Regions from separate parts of the Homo sapiens genome. Here regions 2 and 3 are each linked to region 1. Evidence: promoter capture Hi-C in 16 types of primary human blood cells and fetal thymus (Javierre and others, 2016). All regions are on one chromosome and are shown on one strand. Each heading gives the region's core, a stretch centred on a gene start or on the middle of the fragment in contact. The rest is flanking DNA. Distances are from core to core; before and after follow the strand shown.

Region 1 (3,532 bases), core at 499-2,998:
CACTTTAGGATAATCCTTTCATGGGTCAGGTCAGTATTTCAGAGGAAAAATATATGCGGATCTTGGAAATTCTCTTCTCATTCAGTTTCAGATCAGTTCTGACCCTCCATTACACATAAACAAAAGGAAAAGGCAGTACTGAAAATCCCAAGAATCTTGGCTGGTGGCAGACTATTACCTTAAGAAATGAGCACATGGGAATTGGGCGAGGGGATCTTAAAATCAGCTTTACACACACATAAGCTGCAGAACATTTTAATCTTGTGAAAGATAACAGGGTAATAAAATAGAATTTTTTTTAAACTGGGTCTTGCTATGTTGCCCAGGCTGATCTCCAACTCCTGGCCTCAAGCAATCCTCCCACCTCGGCCTCCTAAGTGCTGGGATTACCACCATGAGCCACCGCACCAGGCCTAAAATAGAATTTTTCAAAACTTTCTACAACAGCAAAACTTGTGGAGCCTTGGGAGAAAGTATCACAAAAGATATTTGCTGTTGCAGATACAAATGTCAGAACTGCAGTATGAAACGACATCTAGAAGTTTACAGTCATCATAAACCAGAAAATTGGTAAAACCAAGAAATGTCAGGTTCCAAGATTTGGAAGGGTTTTGGGGAGGACAACTGGGGGCAAGTGATAAACTGAATTTATATTATCAAATTATCATGGAGCTAGGAGTAAATTGTAAAAATAAACTTTGCAGGTTCAAATTCAAAATTGAAGAATTTTCAAAAAGTTGAGGGTATATAAAATCAGGCAGAATCTATAGTGCTATGAGCACTAGACCAGGAATCCGAACACTTGGGCTCTTGCTATGGCTCCAACCCAAACCACCATGTGACCTTAAGCAAGTCACTTGCCTTCTTCAAGCCTATCTCCTTATCTTTAAGGGACGGGAGAACAATGATGATTACTAAGATTCTTGCCGGCCTAACCTTTTAGAAGTCAAAAGTACACAAAGATCAGGAGCTTTCAGGTCGACACAAGAGGTGGAGGGAAAGAGAGGAAAAGAGGGCCACAGAGTGAGAAAACTTGGGAGTCAAGTAACAGCGTTTGTGGGAACAGAAAAGTTTCATGATGGCCAAGTACTAGTAGAGAAGAGCCGATGTCAGGATCTCGAAAAACTACTAACTACTCAGCATATGTCAAAATGAACAGAAAGACGGGGGATGGGAGGACAGATATCAACGAATTGTCTCTGTTAATCAATCAGTAATCGATCTGTCCTGGTAAACAGACAGGAGATCCGAATGCCGCAACCTCGGAAATCACTGTGACCCCTGATGTCAAGGTGTCCGGGAGGCAAGGAACAAGGGGACTCCGTGTCTGCTTCCGTCTAGTGAGAGGATTCGGAGAATCGACGAAAAGTGAGGAAGGGGGCAGAGGAAAGGGGATCTGGGACATGGAGCAGGCTGGCGGAAGGTGGAGTCAATGCCTGACTCCCGCCCGAAGGCAGGCAGAGGGGTCGGTGTCCGGGGCCCGTTCTCACCATCTTGATGATGCCCCGCTGCACGGTGGGGACCGCGGGTCCCCCGGAGGAGCCGCCGCTCTGCGCGGAGGACGCCATGTGTGGAGATGCAAAGGCAACGAGTGGAGCGGCTGGCCGGACTGGAGGTGTCAATGTGGGTGTCGGTGTTGGTGAAAGGGAGTCGAGGCGAGGGGCAGGCTGGCTACCAGCTGCGGACGGTGGACGGGACGGACTCGCCGGGCGCTCACAGGAGCAGCAGCGGGACACGGAGCGAAAGAGACGCGATCTCCGCCGCCGCCACACGTTCTACTCGCCGCGCAAGCGTGCCAGAGCGCCACCGCCCTCCGCCCAATTAGCGCCCAGAGCCCGCCGGCCCTCAGGCCAATAGGCACCCTGCTCGCGGAGCCCCGCCTCTTGGTCCCCAAAACGGTGGTGAGTTCCAGGAAGCGCTGAAAGAGTTGATTTGCAAGGATGGGCTAAATATGGGGCGGGACTTCCGGGGCAGCCGGAGTAGGTAATGTCGGGAGGTGTAGTGGGAAGGAAAGGACACGTCAGCATCTGGCCGCGGGGCGCGGGGGGCCATGGGAGCCCCAGGGGCGGAGCCAGCCGCGCCCTCCCGCCTGACCTCGCCCATGACGTCCTTCCCCGCTGGCCTCAGGGGCGCACACTTGTATACCCACCTAGGTGGGCGCCGCTGTACCCGGGAATGCGGCCTGGGAGGGTGGAGCCACGCAGGCAGAGTCCTGGAGGAATCTCCGTACCCGCTCCACTCGACTTCCGACATTTTACCTTGGCTAAAAGTATGGAGAGAACTTGGAAAATCAGAGCTTTGTGGAACCTCCTACCGATGTGGGCTTTGACCTGCCACGCGGCCGCGCGCCCTTTTTGTAGTCAGAGAGTGTGCCTCGCCCTTGTTTGTGTCGCTGGGGTCTAGCACTTGTGAGGCGTTCCATTAATGTTTGTTGGTGGGAGGAATAAATGTCTCAGAGGAAGGACATGCCACGTATACAGGGGAGAGTGACCCTCGTTCTTCGGTCTCTTCCCAGCTGCTCCCGTGACGTTAGGGAAAAGGCTCGCTTCACGCTCTCACCCGACCCAGTGTGAAGCGCCTCCAGCCACCGGATACCTTCCCTAGCCCCAGTAAAAAGGTCGGGGAAGGAACGGGAAAGCCAAGGCCTACAAATATTTAAGTGACTGTTTAGCGAGAACTAATATTCGTTGAGTGCCCACTATGTGGAACCAAGGACCTTGCATGTGTTATGTCATTTAATCGTAAAACTTGGCTCTACACTGAAGACAGTACTTCCCTTGCAGTTCTTTTTGTTTCTTTGGTTTTGTGGCTTTTTTGAGACAAAGTCTCGCTCTGTCGCTCAGGCTGGAGTGCGGGGGCACGATCACGGCTCACTGCAGCCTTGACACTCCCAGGCTCAAGCGATCCTCCTGCCTCAGTCTCCGGTGTAGCTGGAGCTGGTACCACGGGTCCGCGCTACCACGCCCAGCTAATTTTTTTTTTGTAGAGCTGAGATTTCACTATGTTGCCCAGGCTGGTCTCCTGGGCTCAAGCTATACTCCTACCTCGGCCTCCTAAAGTGCTGGTATTACATGCATTAACCACAGTGCATGGCCCCTTGCTCTCTTAAAAGATTGTAAGTTTATTCTCCCACACTAAACATATCCCAGGGTTAAGTTTTGAGGTCACCTTCTTAGATCCCTAATTTGCCACCCTTTTCCAAAAAAAAAAAAAAAAAAAAAAAAAACCTCTGTGGAAGTTGGTTCCATCAGATTATACCCCTCTCTATCTCGTGGCTTTTTATCTACCGTACCCCTATTTCTACCGTGTCATTCATTGAAATTGTTAACACTTGGTGCACGGTCTTCAGCCAATAATCCTGAAATACTTCAATATCTACGAGCATGACTTATCCCATACCCTGACCTCTTTGCTCCTTGATCTCATCTTCAGTAAACTTGACCTCTGCACCAATTTAGGACGTTCTCCAGACAGATAAAACACCATAACTTCATAGGTACGATTGTAAACTCAAACACTTTGTCTTTGATCA
Region 2 (3,569 bases), core at 711-3,210, 3.9 Mb after region 1:
TTTAATGTCTTATAATTTTAGTTTAAAAAAATTTTAATACACAATAACTGTACATATTTATGGGGGTACATAGTGATGTTGCAATACATATAACATATAGTGATTAGGGTAATTAGCATATCTATCATCTCAAAAACTTATGTCTTTGTTTTGGGAACATGCAATATCCTTCTTCTAGCTATTTGAAACTATACAATATTGTTAACTATAGTCATCCTACAGTGCTACAGAACACTAGAACTTATACCTCCTATCTAGTTGTAATTGTGTATTTTACAACTTTGAAGTAGGTGTAATTATCCCTATTTAGACTATACCTGTATGAAACAGAAATTATTTTCATTTTACAGATGAGGAAACAGACGCAGAGAAGTAATTTGTCCAAAGTCCATAGGGTTGTAAGACTCATAACAAGAACTACAACTTGGGCCTATCTGAATCTTATACTTCTGGTACTATACTTGTTCACAGGTTTGAAAAGAGCTTTAATTTCTATTATTTCTCAAGAATTTGTAATGCTTTCTCTTGTCACTGTGCTTTCAACTTAGAGGAGTTGCAGTTTTGATAAAAGACAAACTGATTTAGCTTCTAGGTTTGTTAAATATGTAATTCAGAGGCAACTCCAGGCTTATATTTCTACGACTGCTTTCTAAATCTAATTATTTTATAAATAGTCCTGTTGCTTTAATTCACTTTTTACCCTAACATAATTAATCAAGTTTAACTTTGAAATCTCCATATTTTATGTGAGAACTCCCAAGGCTATCCACTTTTATTTTCCTTTGTAAATTTATTGTTGCTCAGCCTATTTCATTAATGGCAGCTTTAATTATAATATTTTATTATATTTTCAAAGTGCATGATAATGGTTTACCAGTCTGGTTAGTACATCAGAGATTTCTATTGGGAGCTATCAGAGATGTTAACATCCAACAATTTTACCAAAGTGTAATTGTTATAGACGTCTTAACATGAATTTACGCAACAAAAATATGTTTAATGTGGAGAACAGTGAGATGCATATTTGATAATTCACTGCAGTCTGCATCATCATCTCTATATTCCAAAATTTCGTCTTAAGCCGTTTAGTATTTAACTTACAGAAGAAAGGGGGTTATCTTAGATAACTTTTAATATCCTAAGGTATTTTCCAATTCACGATACAGGGAGAAAAGAAATGTGTCCAGGCCCTTAGAAGAAAATACTTTGAATTTAAATGTGACACATACATTAAACCCGCGTGACACGCCAGGCAGGCGGTGGAAGTCAAGTGCATTTGTTTTTGTTTCATCCACCAGGGCGATCTCTTTCACAATTCTGGGAGAGGCCTGTTTGTTCCTCCACTCCCACAGCTGAAGTTTGGGACAAAGTTTGAGAAAATCCCAGGCACCTGCGGCTCCTATCGAAGCCGGCGAGGAGCACAGGGTAGAGCGTCTCTTCCCAGTTTTCAGTCTTCAGATCGCAGGCCTCTCGGACCCGCAGAGCGAGCTTCACGCTGCAGCGCTTGAGAAATAAGAGCTATTCCAAGGAGGGGCCCTGGGTCCTCACTGACGCTTCGCAAAGGTGTACGTCCGCCCAGGGAAGGCCGGCGGCGCAGCGACGGCGAGGAGTCCCCATCCATCTTCTCTTCAAGCAGCAGTAGCTGGGTTCGGGTACCCAACCGACGAGCCGAGACGCCAGAGGCCAGAGTACGAAGTTGGAAGCCTGCGCCCCAAGCCAACCGGGATTCCACTTAGCTCCGCGCGGTCCGCGCCTCGGCCGGAAGGGGGCGTGGCTTCGGGCCCGCGCCGCGAGGCCCGCCGCCGAGTGGGGGGGTTTCTCCCGGGCCGCAGCCGCGCGTTTCCGGCGCGCTCCCCCGCGCCCTCCGTCCTGTGGTCTCGCCCGCCCCCGCTGCCATGTTGGATTGTGCGGCCGCCGCCGCCGCTGCGGGAGGGTTGGGGGAGGAGTTGGGAGTTTAGCGCAGTCGCCGGAGTGCGAGGACAACGACCATCCGGCCCTAGCCTGGCCGGGCGGGTGCCGGGAGCTTCCCTTTCTCAGCGCGGCGCGAAGGTGGCTCGCCGTCAGCGCCTGCTTCCCTCGACCTCGTCCTCCTCCCCGCTCCGGAGGAGCTGCGAGATGTGGCGCCTCTGACTCCACTTCTCCCCGCCCCTGTCACCGAGAGGGGGAACGAGCTCTCGCCCACTCGCCGGAGGAGACGGCCCTGGACTCCCAACCCCGCCGGCGAAACCATGAGCTCCGTCCAGCAGCAGCCGCCGCCGCCGCGGAGGGTCACCAACGTGGGGTCCCTGTTGCTCACCCCGCAGGAGAACGAGTCCCTCTTCACTTTCCTCGGCAAGAAATGTGTGGTCAGTGGACGAGACCCGCGTCGCCACCCGTGACATTACCTCACGGGCCCGGGCTTGGGGGCCGGGAAGTGGGAGTGGGGAAGGAGGCGGGAGCGGCGCGGGCCAGGCCTCCCGCCAGCCCCGGCCCCGGCCCCGGCCCCTCGTCGGCGCCCTCGCCCTGCTCCCAGGGTGCGGGCCGTGGCGGTCGGGCGCCGCCTTCCCGAGCTGCTGGAGAATAAGGGAGTGTCACCTCCGCAGGCCTGTCCTCCAGCCTGGCCGGGCCTCGGCCCGCGCCCTTGCTGCTGGTTAAAACTTTATTCTCAGGCCACAAGGGGATTTTCTTGCAAGAGCCGCTTGGTCCTAGAATCTGGGCCCTTGTTCTAGCTCTCGCTTCACCTCTTACTGCTTGATCTGGGGGTACGTTCCTTAACAATGCCAGGTTTGAGGAGTGGATAGGTCGGGGAAGGAAGGTGGTTTTTAATCTCCCATTAGGATTCCAGGAGGGAATGAAGTCGAGTGCAAGAGCCTGGGCTCTCTTCGGATTAGAGAGGGTGCAAGAAATGTTATTGCTCTTCGTTAAAGAGAAACAAGATTTATTTCTCTAGCAACCTTGCCTAGGCCTGGTTTCTACTCTCCTTCCCACTGATTTTTTTTTTCCCCCCATTGGTGGGAGGGGGTGCTGCTCTCCCCGCAGCCATGCGCAGGGAAACCTCAATCTCTGGTAGCTCTTGGCTTTTGGGGCCGAGAATGATTCTTAGTTTGGTGCTGTGCGGCCAATTCCAACCCCAGATGGCCGGTTGGGAGCGAGCAGTTCTGCTGTGGGAAGGGGAATGTGTGTTGTTGACGGAAGCATTCATTACATTGGCTGCTGGCAATTCTGGGGGTGGGGAGGTTCTGCTCTGTGGTGTAGGCCTTGTCGGGATCATACTGCGGTGACTGGGTTGAAGTGTGGTTTGTTGAAATACTGGCTGGATCCCTTTCTCTCCACTTTGCTAGCACCTGCAGAGTATGTGCCACTGGAACCCAGAAAACACGGAAATTTCAACAAAGCAATACCATTTTATAACTCCTTTAAGTAATATTAGGTATGCCAAACCAGATTTCACCTGCTTCTTTAAGAAGTTAGGATTAGACAATTTCTGGAAAGTTATTGGATTCATTGTTAACTTCATAGGAGTCCACCCTTTGTATCTTGTGCCATCCGGTTGGAGATTGAATCGTTCCATTCAATTTCAGATGTGTTTC
Region 3 (3,664 bases), core at 1,086-3,585, 4.1 Mb after region 1:
TGCTCCACAGACTACCCAAGGAAGCCTAACTAAGTTAGGTTCCTATTTAAGATTAAATTGTATAAAGTCATCCTCACAGCAAACTACAAAAAAAAATGAATAGTGGCTATCAAGTCACATTTAACACTGTGAGACACTTAAGTTCTCTCCTACCAGTTTTTCTTCCCCCATCTCCTGACTCTATTCCTAAACCTACTGTTTGCATACCGTCTCTAACATTGAGAACAGTGAATGACAAATTTTAAAGAGGAGACCCAGCAAAGTGAATGTTTAAAACCAGTGGAATGTTTATTAGTAGCAGAATGTAAGATAAATTATGATTTTGGAGATGGGAGTGTATGAGTGTTTGTAAAATCTTATCTGCACACCTCCACACCTGGTCTACCCATCCAAGAAAGCCTAATTCTAGTGGTTACCTCTATGCCCATTTTTCCCCTTTACTTTTCATGAATGTGTGGAAATGATTAAAATGAATTTACTTTTACTGATCATTATTAAAACAAAGCCAATTTTATCTGAATATATATTTCACTATTCTAGTAAAAATATATTTTAAAATGGGATGACTGAAAAAAATGGCATTGGATATTACAAAGTTATTGGGGAGATGAGAGTGCAATTTCAGCAGAACAGTATAAAGAAATAAATGAAGACAATGAACATTTATGAATAAGGGAATGGACCTGTATTAATTTTATTAATCCTTTTAACATATCAAATCAAATTAAACAGTACTGTAATGGTTAAAAAATCTGGGACCTGGAGTTAGATTGCTTAGGTTTAATCCTGGTTCCCTCATTAAACTTTGTGTGCCTTAGTTTTCTCATTTACAAAATGGGTCTAATAGCAGTTTCTCCCTAATAAAATCGTTGTAAGGATTAAATTAGAAATCTATGTACGGTGCCTCATGACAATGAATACTTCATAAATGTTAGCTGCTATTATGAGATAGCAACATGTAGTTTGTTACTAAATTTCCAAGAGGAACATACTTGACTTGACCTCCAATACTATCCTGTGGTTCTTTAAAAGTTTTCTTATTCATTGATAGGCCGGGCGCGGTGGCTCACTCCTGTAATCCCCAACACTTTTGAAGGCGGATTGCTTGAGGCTAGGAGTTCCAGATCAGCCTGGCCAACATGGTGAAACCCCATCTCTACTAAAAATACCAAAATTAGCCGGGGGTGGTGGCGGGCGCCTGTAATCTCAGCTACTCAGGAGGCTGAGGCAGGAGAATCGCGGGAGCCAGGGAGGTAGAGGTTGCATTGAGCCGAGATCGAACCACTGCACTTCAACCTGGGCGACAGAGCAAGACTCTGTATACACTAGAAAAAAAAAAAAAAAAAAGAATTTGTTGTTAGACAAAATTTAGTTTATTAACTAATTTAGTGATTAACAAAAGTTCTTCTAAGCAGAATTATTTGATAGCTACTATCTCCCTTTTCTCTTTGGCTGCCAGGAAGCTGAGAGCCAAGTTGTTAGTTTAACAAAAGCAAGTAGGCACCTGACAGTTTCTCGCCTCTGACTTCATCGTGATGATTTCTCTGACTCGGATTTTTTTTATATCTGTAAAATTAAACTGCTGTCAGTGTTTGGTTTAGAGAGCTGTGCCGTTTCACAAGTGTAAAAGATCTTGGAGAGAAGTTAGTGTCCTGATTCACTTGGATCTAGGTAGCCAGTTGGTAACAGCCTCCGCCTCTGGCTCCTCCCCTTCTCCCTGCCGCGTCCCTCCTCCCCGCCCCTTCGCCTCTGGCCCCGCCCCTTCTCCCTGCCGCTTCCCTCCTCCACGCCCGCTCGCCTCTGACTCCTCCCCTTCTCCCTGACGCGTCCCTCTTCCTGTCTCTTCGCCTCTGGCTCCTCCCCTTTCTCCTGCCATGTTTCTTCTCCCCGCCCCCTCGCCTCTGGCTCCTCCCCCTTTTCCCTATCGCGTTCCTCCTTTGCAGCCCCCATCCCCCTCCTCTGGCTCCTCTTCTTCCCTACCGCGATCCTCCTTCCAGACCCCGGCCCCCAGCCCGCCTCTAGCTCCTTCCCTTATTTCCTGCCGCGCTCCTCCTTCCCGACACCGCCCCTCCGCCTCTGGCTACTCCTCTTCTCTCCTGCCGCACTCCTCCTTCCCGGCCCCACCTCCCCGCCTCTGGCTCATCCCCTTCTCTTCTGCCGCCCTCCTCCTTCCCGGCCCCGCCCCCAGTCTTTGGCTCCTCCCCCTACCCTGCCGCGCTCCTCCTTCCCGGCCCCTCCCCGCTGCCCTCTTCTGGCTCCTCCCCCCCACCCGCCTCTGGCTCCTCTCCTTCCCACCCCTGCCGTGCTCCGGCAGGAAGAGGTGGTGCCAGGGCCGTTGCTAGGATACGACCAACAGCTGAGAACGCGGCGAGTATGGAAGCTGCGTCTTAGGAGCCTGGGAAAGCACTTCGACGAGAATAGTTTGGTTTCGTACACAGGTAGGAGAACAGATTTTGACTGCGGCCTCCTGGTCCGACGCTTAGATCCAGCCTAGAGCCGGTGACAGCCGCGCTGGACTCTGGGTTCTGTGTGCTGGGCAGTGATTCCCACCTGAGCGCCTGGGGCTGCCTAGTCGGTCAGGAATGTTCCGACTTTACTTTAAAAACCGTGCGAAGCATCTCATCTTTCTCGGCTCCTTTTTTGGCTTCCCCTCTCTGATTTGGGACTTGAACCAGCAGCATCAAGCTAGGAGGTACACCTCACCTCACACCCTGGGTGCTTGTCACGGTAATTGCATAGAAGATGTGTGTATAACCCACACCTGGCACTAGAGACTCTTAGCCTTCCGTGGCCACCATTCTCATATTAAGTCGAGAGATTTTAGACTTTCCTCACCTGGCACTCTCACTCCTTCCTCTCCACCCTTGGTCTTTGCCTCTTAACAAACCTAAAAATTCAACAGATCTATTTGGTAGAAGGCAATACTGGATCCCTGCCTCACTAATTATACTACATTCTAAATGTGTTAAGCTTTAAATGGTAGGGAATGAAATGTAGGTGAAAAGGGAGACTTTTTTGTATGCAAACATGATAGAGGTTGCTTTTTAAACAATAAGATTTAAACATTTTCATTTGAATAGATAATACATAAAAAAATAGTTCGAATAGTAAAAAGAATGAAGAGTGAAAATCCTCCATCTACCCATTTCTCCCCATCTCCAGGCCACCTTCCACAGGTGTTTTAGACATACGCAAATATGTAGTTACACCTGTAACATTGTGCATACTCTTCTGTGATTGGCTTTTACACTTAAGACTGTGTGTCCAGTTGTTTTCTATCAATATTTACAGATCTGTCTCATTTATGCATTTATGGATGAATTTATGTATTTATGTTTCATTGTGAGAAGGTGTTTCGAAGCATGTCAGGAAATTTGGAAACTCTCATAAGCAAAAAGATTGATAAATGTCACTACCTAACAATCTAAAACTTTTATATAGTAAGAGAAAAACAACATCAAACATACAATGGGAAATATAAGGGCAACACACAACAAAGGGATATTTAATTATTAGGACTCATAAAACAATATGAGGATGTAAGGAAACAGTCAAGGGGAACTTCTTGGGGCTATAATAGAAAACAGTTTGATGGAATTTAACAAAATTAAGATCTGTATGCCCTTTGACTTGTCCATTCTAATTCTGGGAACTCATTTTCAGT

Evidence for each region. The method cuts DNA at HindIII sites, captures the fragments that hold promoters and counts their contacts. A CHiCAGO score of 5 or more calls a contact.
Region 2: a contact is called between the fragment with the promoter of WASL here and the fragment with the promoter of SND1 in region 1, in 2 of 17 cell types (M1 macrophages and M2 macrophages). The highest score is 7.6, in M1 macrophages.
Region 3: the fragment with the promoter of IQUB here is called in contact with the fragment with the promoter of SND1 in region 1 in 3 of 17 cell types (non-activated CD4 T cells, total CD4 T cells and naive CD8 T cells); the score reaches 15.7 in non-activated CD4 T cells.

What each region holds. Positions count from the first base shown.
Region 1 is chr7:127,650,410-127,653,941 of GRCh38, reverse strand. SND1 (staphylococcal nuclease and tudor domain containing 1) reads right to left here and starts at 1,748. Exons shown (of 24, transcript NM_014390.4): 1 at 1,491-1,748. The coding sequence starts at 1,568. SND1-DT (SND1 divergent transcript) reads left to right here and starts at 2,110. Exons shown (of 2, transcript NR_186577.1): 1 at 2,110-2,269. RefSeq lists enhancers at 1,530-1,709, 1,534-2,152 and a silencer at 1,950-2,199. The HindIII fragment of the contact is 9,151 bases long and covers 1-3,532 here.
Region 2 is chr7:123,747,394-123,750,962 of GRCh38, reverse strand. It overlaps WASL (WASP like actin nucleation promoting factor), which reads left to right and starts at 1,960. Exons shown (of 11, transcript NM_003941.4): 1 at 1,960-2,345. The coding sequence starts at 2,229. It overlaps WASL-DT (WASL divergent transcript), which reads right to left and starts at 1,768. Exons shown (of 1, transcript NR_170281.1): 1 at 1-1,768. RefSeq lists silencers at 1,678-1,997, 2,458-2,547 and enhancers at 1,576-2,230, 2,990-3,039. The HindIII fragment of the contact is 6,394 bases long and covers 1-3,569 here.
Region 3 is chr7:123,533,266-123,536,929 of GRCh38, reverse strand. IQUB (IQ motif and ubiquitin domain containing) reads left to right here and starts at 2,335. Exons shown (of 13, transcript NM_178827.5): 1 at 2,335-2,438. It overlaps LOC124901740 (a long non-coding RNA gene), which reads right to left and starts at 2,399. Exons shown (of 2, transcript XR_007060507.1): 1 at 1,505-2,399; 2 at 671-1,325. RefSeq lists an enhancer at 1,449-1,588 and silencers at 1,659-1,788, 1,869-2,018, 2,039-2,268. The HindIII fragment of the contact is 3,094 bases long and covers 1-2,972 here.